Linked DNA regions of Homo sapiens: regions 1, 2 and 4 are each linked to region 3. The links are contacts of gene promoters, found by promoter capture Hi-C in blood cells and fetal thymus (Javierre and others, 2016). All regions are on one chromosome and are shown on one strand. Each heading gives the region's core, a stretch centred on a gene start or on the middle of the fragment in contact. The rest is flanking DNA. Distances are from core to core; before and after follow the strand shown. Region 1 overlaps ZDHHC21 (zDHHC palmitoyltransferase 21). Region 2 holds the start of LOC105375980 (a long non-coding RNA gene). Region 3 holds the start of PSIP1 (PC4 and SRSF1 interacting protein 1). Region 4 has its middle 6.8 kb from the start of ZDHHC21.

Region 1 (2,968 bases), core at 99-2,598, 840 kb before region 3:
TTTTCTATTTTTAACAAAATGGTCTTCATGCACTTTGCAGTTAAAAATGGAGATATCACTTTTATCTAACTGCAAATCTATAAAGGCCATTATTTCCATAAGTTCATAAATTAGTAAATAACTGAATATTGACAGCACTGCTAAAATACTAAATATATTAAAAGGAAAGTTATCATAGTGGCACTACACCCCAAAAACGTTTACAATGAGAAAAATAATTATACAAGAAAATAAAGATCAAGAAACTTACTTATTATTAATATGCCTGGAATATGTCCTTCTTCATAGTGAGGAAAGAGGACAATTTTGGGAATTAAAACAATATTGTATAACCAAACAAAGACAATCAAACCCATGCAGCACCAACCATGTGGGTCAACAACAAAGTGAATCCGGAGACCCATTTTGCAATCTTATAACTGCCTGCTAACCCACAAGGAAGGATGATCCTAAGGAGAAGGAACAAAGAAAATAATTACTTACATAGAAAAATTTGACTAAAACCTGTATTTCTGGCAACTTTTATAAAATGACATTGAGTTTTCTTTGCATATTTGACATTTTCTTTCTGTAGTTGATATATTTATTGATATTTCTTTGTATATATATTTTTACAATAAATACTTGGGAAAACAAACAGAAGTTTCAGGATATTCAAATTTTATCATAAGCTTCAAATAATTTCAATGTTTCACTATGAACTGCTATCACAGGTATAAACTGGAATCATCTACTGAATTTAAAACACAAGTTTGTCCTTAACCCAGCAACTTCCTGTGTAAACCCAAAAGAAATGAATACACGTGTCCACCAAAAGATTATGTACAAAAATTTTTAGTAGCTTTAATCAGAAGACTGATGGGTCACACAAGTCAAAACAGTGGTTACCTTGTGGTTGCAGGGGTGTATATTAACTGAAAAGGAACATGAGAGAACGAGGGGTTGGGAAACGTTCCATATCTTGACCTGGGTGGTACTTTATGTGTATCTACATATGTAAACATTCACTGAGCTGTATACTTCAGATTTGTGCACTCTAGTTTAATTTTAAACTACAATAAAACATTTTTTAAGTATTTTGAAAAATGACAATAAAAAGTGAAAACTAATTACAAATTGCCAAAAATACTAAAATTCATAGAATGAAGCCCAACAAATCTCATTATGATCAACTGAAGAAGACTCCTGTTTAAATGAGGCTTTTTTTAGTTGAGTGTTAACAATATGCCAACAGATCTCTCAATGAGACACTTAAGGACTTAAAATACTTCTATATAAATATGGTACCAAAAAAGTGACTAAAAATACATCCATACTTTGGTAGATATAACTTCCAAGGATGAAATAATAAATTGCTGTATAAAGTCTAGGGGGTACCTTTTACGTAAAATACAATGGTATAATAATAAACTAGGACAACGGTTCTCTAGCCTGTAAGAAAACCAAAAACACCTGGGGAGCTTTTTAAAAATACATATTCCCAGACCCCATTCTACATCTACTGAATCATAATTCTTCATAAAACTCAAAAAACAATAAAATGTTGTAAAATGCTCTGCAAGAGTCTGAAAACAGCTGACTGGTGTCTAGGAAGCACTGACCCATGAGCTTCACTAACACTTCAATGTTACCACAATGAGTTGAACTCACTTAGTTCAACAAATATTCACTGAGCCTCCACTACACACCTATCACTTGCTAGACACTGCAGATACAATGATGAAGAAGACATGGTCTTTGCTTAAAGGAACAGTCTAATGGGAAAAAGAATCAGAAAAAAGATTTAATATAATATGGTAAGTTCCAGATTTGAAAACAAAATGTTAGTAGGGGCACAGAAGATGGGACCAGTTAAACGAGGAATCAAGTAAGACTTACTGTAAGAAGTGAAACCTGAATTCAGTCTTAGAAGGTTAGTAAAAGTTATCTAAGCAATGAAAAGTGACAAGAATACTGCAAACAGAAGGAATAGGAGGAGCAAGAGTAGAAATTGTGGGAGGTATTACAACCTGCCATCACAAATCATAAAGCTTTCTGTGGAGAGTGAGTGCTAAGAAATATGGGCCTATATCATGAAGGACATAAAGATGCCATGTTAGAATGCTAAGACTGAATTCTTCGGCAATGGAAAGCTATTGAAGCAGGGGATTAACATGACGAAATGTGTACCGTGAATAAATTACTGAAGCTCTGGTGTGAATGATAAAATTAAAGACAGAGGTCCATTAGGCTAAGAGAAGGCAAAAGCCAAAATTAGGTTTGCAGAAAGGAGCAACTGCTAGAATCGAACCAGTGTGTTTTTCTGGTTGATTAGATATTAGGGGTTACAGGGGAAAGTGTCAAGGGTGATTCCCAGATTTTCAGCCTATATCCCAGTCTACTTCATTCTAAGAACAATTCATAATCAATTGAAAAGCCTCAGGGCACCATCCCTTAGAGGCCTTGCCCATGTTCTTCAAAGCTATAAAGCTACTGAAACAAAGAAAAAGAGATTAAGGAATACTTGATTTTAAAGGAATACCCCCAGTTTCTCATCCCTAGTTCCTGCAAATATTGGGGCAGCAGAAAAAAAACAAAAAACAAAACAAAAAAAGAACTCAAATGTAATACCACTTAATAGTTTAAATCCGGTATGTTCTAACTTGTGTATGAATTCTAAAACAGAAATAGTGCCCAGGCCACTAAACTAATAAAAGTTTCATTTATTTATCTTTTAATTTAAAAATCAAAAGACAGATTGGTATCATTAAAATGAAGAAAGTCAGACAGGATAAAGCATGCTATTTAATTTGCTAAGAATCATTTTAATAAAGGAATCTCAAATACAAATGGTAAGCTATCTACACAGTTAAAAAGAGAAACATTCAAGACAATGTTAATTTTTTAGTCTTGCCAATTATCAAGTGCTAAAAGAAATGACAAGTGCTCTCTCAACGTGTTCAATATTATTAATTTTATGTACCTTTCT
Region 2 (3,329 bases), core at 381-2,880, 520 kb before region 3:
AGATTGTGGGGCTTCTCAACCCCCATAATCACATGAGCTAATAGATAGATAGAGATATAGGTATAGATATAGATATCTATTCATTCTCTGTTTCTCTGGAGAACCCCAACTAACACAGGGCATCAGTGCATATAATGAAATTACTAAGTCTCCCAAACTCTTTCCCGCATTGGGCTCCAAGAAGGCTATATATTCTCAAAGCAAGTAATTAGAAGATTACTCTCTAGAAGAAAATAAACAGCTGGTCCTTGCCCCACCATCTTACACCTTGTCCCACCATCTTACACCTTGCCCCACCATCTTACACCTTGCCCCACCATCTTACACCTTGTCCAGCAGTGAACAAGCCTTGCCTATGTCCCCAAAGCACCTTTTTAGAGCATCACTTTTACATATAAATTGACAGCAGGGATCACTACACAAGATGAAGAACGCCTCTAGCAGAAACGACAGGGACCAAATATAAACAAACAAACAACCAAAAAAAACTCAAAGAATCAAAATCAATGCAGAGTTATGTAGAAAGTATTTTAAAACTCCTATAATTTACATCTTCAGAGAGTAAAGGAGGTATATTCATGAAACAATAATGTAATGCTATAAAAGAACAGAGAATAAAAAGGGCACTTAGAAATGAAGGTATAATAAAAGAAATAAAGTAATCTGATAATCATTTGTCCAATTAAGTTGAAAAAGTCACAGAGAAAGTAGAATAAAAAGATGAAGGGATAGAAAATAGGACAGACAGGTAAGAAAAAACATCAGCCAAGAAGGTCCACGATCTAAATAACAAATTTCAAAAAATAAGAGATAAAATAAGAGAGGGCGGAAAGAAACGATCAAATAAATAATACCAGGAGAATCCCCATAACGGAAGAACATGTGTTTCAGGATTGAAAAACTGATCAATAGGAATGAGAAAAGACCCATAAGAAAGACACTCGATTGTGTCTTAGAACGCTGGGTATAAAGAGAAGATCCTAAAGCTTCTTGAGACAAAACAAAACCGAAACCAAAGCGGGTTACATAACAAGAAATTTAGTGACCTGAGAAGGAGAAGGAAATGCAATGACGTAGAGTTTCTCAACAATTTTGGAAGCTAAAATATTGTGGAGCAAGCCCTCCAATATTCCGAGTGAAAGTTATTTTCAACCTAGAACTCAGCCAGAATAAAAACAGTTCCAGACCTGCACGCTCTGTGGGAAAAAAGACCTGGAAGCAACCTCCCTCAAGGAACTATTGGCGGATATGTTCCACAACATGAGGCTATATAATCAAGAAAAAGACACAGACTCAGGAAATAGGGAACTCACCTCAGGAATGAGGAATAAGACCTTCCCAGGATGGATGTGAAGGAGACCCAGGACATCAGTTGAGAGCTGTGCCTTCCAAATTTTGATGTGCATAGGAATTACCAGGGGATCTTGTTGCAATGCAGACACTGATTCAGTAAGTCTGGGTAGGGCTTGAGATTTCGCGTTTTTAACAAATTCCCTCAGGATGCTGAGGCTGCTGGTTCAGGGACTACACTTTGCATAACTGGGGTGTAGAGAAAAAATAGTCCGAACTGTACCAAGAAGACGATGGTACAGAGACAGAGACAGACAGACACTTATTTCCTTCTGGGAGATCATCGGGAATGAATTAGTGTAAGTCAATAACTGTATAGTAGGGGAGGGAGAGGGATGGAGGAGAGGGAGAAAAGGATTAATGTTTTAAGTAAACACAAATGAAGAAAAAACAAGGAAGGGGCTGTACTGAGGGCAGCCGCATACATCCAACCTTGCCTCTAGTAGACACCTGAAGAGGAAGGTTGGACCACCCTAACGGATTCAGATTCAGTAGTCTGGGGGGGTCTCTGGAGTGACCCTGGAAGATGCTCCAAAAAGCCTAGAAGCGGACCACAAGGACAGAAGACGCCCCTTCCCCATACCCAGCAAGGGAGTAAGCCGGGCCTCAAAGCGCCCGGCGCCAGGTCTCAGGGGGCGGGGCATGGGCGGAGCCTTTTCCCTAAATTGGCGCGCCCGAGCGGCGCTGGGATTCGCATTGGAGGCTTTTGAACCCGGAAGCAGTTGGCTGCTCTCGGAAGCGGCCGCGGATCCGGGAATTCGGCTGGCGCTGCAGCTGCAGAATGGTGGGCGGTGGCTGGAAGCGCAGGCCCGGCGCGGGGGCGGGGCCGCAGATACTGCCAGAAAGGCTGTGGGGGCTACGCAGGTGGCTTTGGATGACAGCCAGGGTACCAGGAGGCAGCGCGTTTCATTCATGCAGTGACTATTAAGCTTGCTGTGTGTCCGGGGTCTGCGGTTTGCTGCGGGGACCCTGCCCAGGTCGCTGTTTCGCGCTCTGTAGGGGATTGGACCAGGAAAGTAGCGCCTCTGCATTTTCTGCCCAGCTCCTCTTGGCGCATTTCCTGGGGAAACGGATTAAGCCAACCAACGTTTCATTCATTCGCCCACCCAGATAGATTGGGAACCGATTACATACCAGACATTGTGCGGGGCCCTGCGGATTTGGGGTCAACCCGCCTGCCCCTTCTCCATGTAGAGCCTCCGGCCTGGGGAGGAGGGGCACAAGCGAATATGCATTCTACTGTGACTTTTTTGTTTGGGATTATAATGCTGGTGTGTAGAAAGTGCTATGGAAACACTGAAGGAGGATTTAACAAGTCCCAGGGGGTGTTAAAGAAGACTTTTAAGACAACTCTTTGAAAATGGGTTTTGAAGGCAGAGAAGAGTCTGAGACGTAAAAGTGTAGGAGATGTTTGGGCATAGTGGAGCGTTCGGCTTGGCTGGAGCCAGAGAAATGGGAAAGTAAGAGGGACCTGATCATAAAAGCACTATGAGAGGGGAGGGGGGAAAAGTATGTGCATTATCTCATATTTTACTACGATTTCGGAAGTTCTGTAACCACTACAGTAGCAATAAGGGGAATCAGACAGGAAGGAAGTGCCATTGTGATAACTAAAGTTTTAGAAAACTTAGTCTGGCAGTGTTATAAATCGGATAGGGTGTGAGACATTCTTGGAGGGCTTAATTAACTAGTAAAGGGCCAGTTGTATAGGCATTCTTCATATTGGGTCATGCATTCTAGGAATACCAGGGTAAAGGAGAAATGCAGCCTCTGAAGGGGACAGCTGTCCTAAATTCTAGTTGTTAGGGATATGGAGATGCTGAACTAGTATGTGAGTTAAGGCAGAGCTGAAAAAATTCTCTTTGAAGGTTCAGTGAAGAACTGCTTTGGTGGCGTGAGGTGCTTAACTAGAAATACAATAGCAGAAATGAAGGCGAGTCTATAGAGGCTATAACCATAATGGCCGGCATTTGCATATT
Region 3 (3,387 bases), core at 461-2,960:
TTACCTAATCTAATTGATTGCAACATATCTTAGGTCCTATCTATCTCTGTTTGAGAGCCTGGGTACCACCATAAACAAAAAGAACCCTTTTTCTAAAAATGGAGCGTAGATCTTTAAACAGTCTCAATTCCTCAATGTCACAAAACATCCTGGGTCCTTAATCATTTCTCTGTACCACTAGATGTGAACTGAGGAATCTGGTCCACACCTCCTTTTTGCCTATTGGAAACAAAAAGGTAAAACAACTTCTTCAAGGTCATAAACATCTCAAATAAAAAAGGAGAAATGAATTTTCTGGCCCTTCCTCGGTACTAAACTACTGTAATACTTTCAAGAATATCCAGTCCTGAATCTGTATTAAACAAGCAAATCCAGAAGGCCTCATCAAGTACAAGGTATTTTTTTTAAAACCCTGTAAATCCAATTTAATCACATACGCACTTCTCTGACATCCAAGTGTTTGTGTGTAATCTGCACAAATTCCATTGATATTTTGTACTTGATCCAAAACTATGGAAATGTCAATGTTTCACTAATTTTTAAACAAAAATTCACTCTTCATTATTTCACCTACAATGGAATATTAACTAGCAACGCATTTAAATATTTCCTAGGAAGAAAATCTGTCCAAGTCTGCCAATAAACCATAGGGAAATACACAGGTATGTAGAAACGTCTGGATTTTCATAATTACACGGGAGATTATTGGGCAAAAAACTAAAATGAAAGGTCAGGTTACAAATGAGACTAAAGCGAGGGAGAGAAAGGACAGAAGAAAAAATAAAGAGACACGGTGGGCAGCAGGCCTCTGGAGAGGAGGGTAGCACTGCTAAGCGCGAGGGCTACAAATCACTTACTCGAGCTGGCCAATGGGGATAACCTTTCATCTTGGCGAAGATGAGGTCTCCAGGTTTGAAATCGCGAGTCATGTTTCGGGGGCGAGACCGGGGGTCCGAAGCCCGGGAGGCGGCGAGGAGATGCGGCGGCGCGGGGATGCGGGCGGCGGACGCGGGCCCAGCTACCGGGCCCGCGGGCGGGGGAGGATGCCTCGGGGCGTCCCGACGCGCCTGCTAGGGAGAGCACCGAGGGCGGTTAAAGCGAAGAACCCCGAAGGGAGGGGCCGCAAGGGGAGGGGGAGGGGAACCGGCGGGTGGGGGTGGGAGAGCGAGGGGACGGCCGCCTCCCGCTCCTCCCCCGCCAGTGCGCTGCCTCCGCGCTGGAGCAGGTCCTCCACCCCGCCACCGAAGAGACGCCACCACCTGAAGCAGGGATGCTGCCCGGCCAGAAATCGCCCGTCTGCCCGCCCCATCTTTCTCCGGGCTTTTTCCACCGAGCTTAAGCCCCAAAAGGGAGGGGGTGCATGGGAGAGAAAAAGGCAGGGATTCCGAGAAGCGAGCGGCCCCCTTCCGCCCACGCAAGGCCTCCCCCGCAACCTGCTGCCCAGCGGCTGCAGCCTCGGCCCCCTCGGCTCCCGGGCGGGCCGCGTCCACTTCCCCGCTACAGCCAGGAGCGACGCCACCGAGGGGGGGGCGGGGCGAGTCCCCGTCGCCCGCTCACCTGCCGGGGCCGCGGGCGCCGACGCTGCGGTTGCTGGCCGGTCGCCTCTACCCGCGTCCACGCAAGCCACCTGCGCCACCAGCTGCCGCAGAGGCGTCTCAACGGCTCGGAATCGCAACCGCGCCGCCGCTGCCGCCGCCGTAGCTGCGCTGCTCCCGCGCGGCTCCCGCTCGGCGCCCGCTAGCACTGGGGCGCGACCAACTGTTTACCGAGAGAGGGGGGATGTTGCAGCACCCGGCGAAGCTGTGTGGCTCCGAAGCGGATTTTCTGGAAACCCTACGTCCCCAAGTTCGCTTTCATGTAACAGGTGCATGCAGATGGAGAGGAAGACGCAAGCGAAGAAGAAAGGACTGGGCGAAAATAGCTCGGCCTGCCGCAAGTTCCCCCTGCGGTTTGCGGAGTGGTCGGGCCCGGCCCGCCCCTGCTGGCTTCTCTGCGTGTGTGTATTTGTATGTGTACTGTATGTAAAAGGCGGGGAGGGAGGAAATGATTGTTGTGGACGCGGTTTTGGGGGCGGGTATCCGGGCCTCTCTCCCTTGGCTGCGTGTTAGGGAGAAAGTGGCAGTAAAGATTCATGTTCTTGTATCGTTTCCAGGGTGGGGAGGTTTGAATGCTGCTTTTGCGCGGTTTGCATCATCCAAAAAAGAGGAGCTGTACGAAAACCCTAAGATGAAATTGGAGCATGCGGCGGTTGCAGGGTGTGCTGCATCTAGGCCTCTTGCACCTCGCTGAATGGGCCTCGTAGTCTCCTTTTCCTTGAAATTGTAGTATGAGAGAGCCCTATTTCATTTCTTTTGCATTTGCATCACCAAGAACTATTAAGAAAAATGCAACCCTACTGAATGCAAAATGCGAAGGGTAGAAAACAATGACAGGAAAACAGAAACCTTTTAGATAGGATGTGAGTTTGGGCCCTAACTAAATTTTAGCTGCATCTAAATTTTATTTCCCTAGTAGAATAGGAGCTGGTAGGTGGTACAATGTGTAAGTGTTACTAAACCTCAAATATTTTCTCTCTTAAAATGCTCTTCAAGGGATTTTAAAGGTTAATTTTTTGATCCTTTAGAGAGGCTGAAAATATTTTTAAAAAGAATGTTAAGACATATAAAAATAAGAATAATAAGACATATATTAGCACCTAGATAATACTGTTTTAAATACGGGACTCAACTGGAAATGAATTAGGAAATTTTTTTTGAATTGGTAAAAATTGAGAATTTTTTGAAAGCGATACAGCATGTCTTTAAAAAGGAATGAAAGAAGACAGTCCCAAAGTAAAATGTCCTGTAAGGAGTTTCGAGAAACTAAGTATACCTGGGCAATATGCAGAGAGTTCCAAGTGGAGCAAAAAGAGAAATTGGCAGAGGAGAAGGAAGGGTTGGTGAAATGTCTTGAAGCTTCTCATTCTGAATATGAATTTAATGTGTGTAGTAGGAAGCTACTATAGGTTGCTCAGCAAGAAGGGGGTAAAAATGATTATTTAACCAGTTCTTGATGTTTCAAGGTAGATGTTAGTAGAAAGAGGCTGGGGGTAACTGGAGTACTCATGAAATGACGCATTTCTCAGTGAGAATGGTGACTAAGAAAAGGGAAGGAAGAGCACAACTAAGTAATTACACAAAGGAATGATTGTCAGGTGTTGGCTATAAATTATGCATAGGAAAAGGTGGAAAAAGATGTATTGAAGAAAAGCTCAAGATACAGAGTAAGAGAGACCAAAGCAGCATCCAGCAATCATTTTTTTGTGTGTATGCACTTTATTTGTTCTAAACCCTGTAAGGCCTTGCTACTTCAAGTGTGGTCCAAGGCCCAGCAGCAAGGGCTTTACCT
Region 4 (2,916 bases), core at 264-2,763, 810 kb before region 3:
TATGTCTTCATTAATAACTTAGCGAGAAAGTTGTCACTTTGTACCCCAGATAAAGCAAAGGAAGTTGTAAATGGTTTTATCATTGGCCCACAATTTCTGCCACAGGAAGACTAAATGATTAAAAAAAAAAAATCAGAAGTTTCTGCCTTGACTGGGAAGTTATCAGGGACATCTCTGCAGAGATTTGGCTATAAGAACAAAGGTCATACATCTATCCTTGTTCACTCCCATACATGAAGGGAGAAATGACAAATTGGGGGTCTAGCGCACTTTGCATGCATTCTTTAAAGGATCAGATATAGTTTTGTTTGTTTGTTTGTTTGTTTTTGAGATGGAGTCTCTGTTGCCCAGGCTGGAGTGCAGTGGCATGATCTCAGCTCACTGCAACCTCCATCTACCAGGTTCAAGTGATTCTCCTGCCTCAGCTTCCCGAGTAGCTGGGACTGCAGGCGTGCACCACCATGCCTGGCTAATTTTTGTATTTTCTGTAGAGACAGGGTTTCACCATGTTGGCCAGGCTGGTCTTGAACTCCTGACCTCAGGTGATCCACCTGCCTCGGCCTCCCAACATGCTGGGATTATAGGCATGAGCCACCATGCCCGGCCAGATACAGCTTTAGCTTTGTGGTCTAGTCTTTGTTGCAATTATTCAGTTCTGTCATTGGATTGCCAAGTCGCCATAGACAATATGTAAATGAATGGACATGGCCATGCAACAATAACATTTTATTTACAAAAACGAGCAGCAGCCCATATTTGGTCCCCATGAATCAGAGTTTGTGAATTCCTGCTTTGTGAATGATTGGAAACTCTTCGCCTCAGAATGGAGGAGGATATAGTGGAGGGAGATTGCCTGGTTTTGTTCCCTGATTCTAACACTACTAAGTATGTGTTACTTAATTACTGATGCCTTCGTTTCCTCATCTGTAAAAAATGGATAATAATAGTCATCATATTAGATTGTATGAAGATCAAAGGAATCAATATATGTCAAGCACTTAAACCTGAATCTGGCATGAGAAATGACTCAGTAACTATTATGACAATTACCTTCAGGTGGAAGGCTGAAGCCAGTGGTGGGTAACATCTAAATATGATTTGCACATTGCTTTGGATAAGAAATAAGAGTATACAAAGGCCTTTCACTGGCTTTTATCTCTTGCTGTCCCACAAATTTTTACCTCATTGGCATTTTAAAAATCAAAAGAGCCCTATTCCAAAGCAAAGAGAAAATCCCAGTTATGGCAGGTCCCAGAAGAATGTTTCCACAAACCTTCAGACTCAACGTGTTCAAAAACAAATCTTTCATTACCACCCCAGCTCTATTTCTCCCCCTAGTATTGCAATTTCAGAAACATCTGTTGTCTAAGCTTGAAAACTAAGAAGTTCTGTCTCCTCCCTCTCAATCCATTCACACCCAGTCACCAAACTCGATCAATTTCACTTCCACAAGATCCTTCGAAGCCATTCATTTCTTTGCATTCCTACAGCACTGAGTTCAGGTTGTCATTATTTTTCACCTGTACTACAGCAGTAGTCATCCTATCCCTAATCTTGCCCCCAACCCATCTGTTTTGCACAATATCACTCATGAACTCTTTCATAAAAGCAAACCTAACCACTCTCATCACTCTACCCATGTCTTTATTGTAAAATGAAAGCTTAGCGTGGCATAAAAGTTCCTTAACAATCTGACCTCTTCAGTCTCATCTCTGCTGCCATCTCTCAACTCCTTCCTCTGCTTTTCCTTCCAGTGTATGTTACAGTAGCACTAAACTGCTTGCTGGCCCATCATTTTCCCTGCCTTCTCAGCTGCTAACTCTGCACTCCTCTTTCAGATCTCTGGTAGTCTCTTACTGCTGAACAACCAGACTAACTTAGGCACCTTCTATTGGGCTTCCACAGGATTCTCTTGACTCATCTATCACAGATCTTACCATGCTGTAATGATCTGTTTGCTTATAAATATTCCCCAGAAGACAGTGAGCTCCAGGAAAGAACATATCCAGTCTTATTTGTGTTTGTCTTTCCGTTGCTTCCCACAACTCTATATCCATTATAGGTGTCCAGTAGTTTGGTTGAATTAATATACAATGAAACTAAAAAGTACAAAGGAAGAATGAGAGTGATTGGCAGGCCCTTGGAGGAGGGATCTATATCTGGTCTTTGATACCAAAGGGTTTGCAAAAGTCCAGGGAGGGGAGGAAATTGGTGGAGGACAGGCAGGGATCTGAAAGTCTGAAGAAAGGTTGAACATAAGGCATGAGAAAAGACCATTAGATTTAGTGAGCAGGATTTTCCTGGAAAACTCAAGAGTAGATTTTTAATAACTAGGTAATTAAACTGAGAAGAGAGATTATTTAGAAATAGAGACAGTAGGCATAGCTGGTTTTGAAATGAGTTAATGGATTGTCTCCTGTTTGTGTTTTAGGATGAGGAAGCATGAGTTATCTCTAAGATAAGATCATAAAAAGAGAAGAAAGACAAGTTAGAATTAAGAGTTAAAGTATGGGGCAAGAGCACCAGTAGAATCAAGAGTCCAGATAAGAGGATTCTCTTTGCTAGGAGAATAGCTACTTAATCTTCAAAGTCAGAAGCAAAAGAAGAGCCAGAGAGTACCCAAGTGGGAGATTTTGAAAGAGTGAAGAGGAAAGCTGAGAGCTTCAATCTAATGGCTACCCTCAGCTACATGTGGACACAGAATGGGAAGTGCTGAGCTCTCAGAAAGTCAAAGGAAAGAGGAGAGTGCTGAGCTCTGGGAAAGGAGATGAAAAGGCAGAAGGAGACAGTACTTCTTCACTTTGCTCAGGTGAAGAGAATGTTGAATACAGAAATGAATCTCCAAGTCCTTCAAGGAAAATCCTGGTACCAAAAGTAACAAAAGAAATACTTTCTGTTATATCTTATGGCTCCAAA

The links. The method cuts DNA at HindIII sites, captures the fragments that hold promoters and counts their contacts. A CHiCAGO score of 5 or more calls a contact.
Region 1: a contact is called between a fragment that was not itself captured here and the fragment with the promoter of PSIP1 in region 3, in 1 of 17 cell types (total B cells). The highest score is 5.9, in total B cells.
Region 2: a fragment that was not itself captured here is called in contact with the fragment with the promoter of PSIP1 in region 3 in 6 of 17 cell types (activated CD4 T cells, naive CD4 T cells, non-activated CD4 T cells and 3 more); the score reaches 13.8 in activated CD4 T cells.
Region 4: a contact is called between a fragment that was not itself captured here and the fragment with the promoter of PSIP1 in region 3, in 1 of 17 cell types (naive B cells). The highest score is 7.2, in naive B cells.

Annotation. Positions count from the first base shown.
Region 1 is chr9:14,673,937-14,676,904 of GRCh38, forward strand. It overlaps ZDHHC21 (zDHHC palmitoyltransferase 21), which reads right to left. Exons shown (of 10, transcript NM_178566.6): 4 at 251-449. The coding sequence starts at 404. Among named protein-coding and RNA genes, the nearest start is that of ZDHHC21, 18 kb to the right of the region's middle. The HindIII fragment of the contact is 1,359 bases long and covers 670-2,028 here.
Region 2 is chr9:14,991,216-14,994,544 of GRCh38, forward strand. It overlaps LOC105375980 (a long non-coding RNA gene), which reads right to left and starts at 1,980. Exons shown (of 5, transcript XR_929491.3): 1 at 1,934-1,980; 2 at 1,314-1,539. It also overlaps the pseudogene LOC389705. The HindIII fragment of the contact is 1,293 bases long and covers 985-2,277 here.
Region 3 is chr9:15,509,260-15,512,646 of GRCh38, forward strand. It overlaps PSIP1 (PC4 and SRSF1 interacting protein 1), which reads right to left and starts at 1,711. Exons shown (of 16, transcript NM_033222.5): 1 at 1,558-1,711; 2 at 858-1,070. The coding sequence starts at 929. RefSeq lists enhancers at 824-1,777, 1,778-2,730, 3,383-3,387 and silencers at 837-1,036, 1,137-1,186, 1,317-1,376, 1,387-1,596, 1,617-1,696. The HindIII fragment of the contact is 3,241 bases long and covers 1-2,952 here.
Region 4 is chr9:14,698,735-14,701,650 of GRCh38, forward strand. No RefSeq gene overlaps it. Among named protein-coding and RNA genes, the nearest start is that of ZDHHC21, 6.8 kb to the left of the region's middle. The HindIII fragment of the contact is 291 bases long and covers 1,369-1,659 here.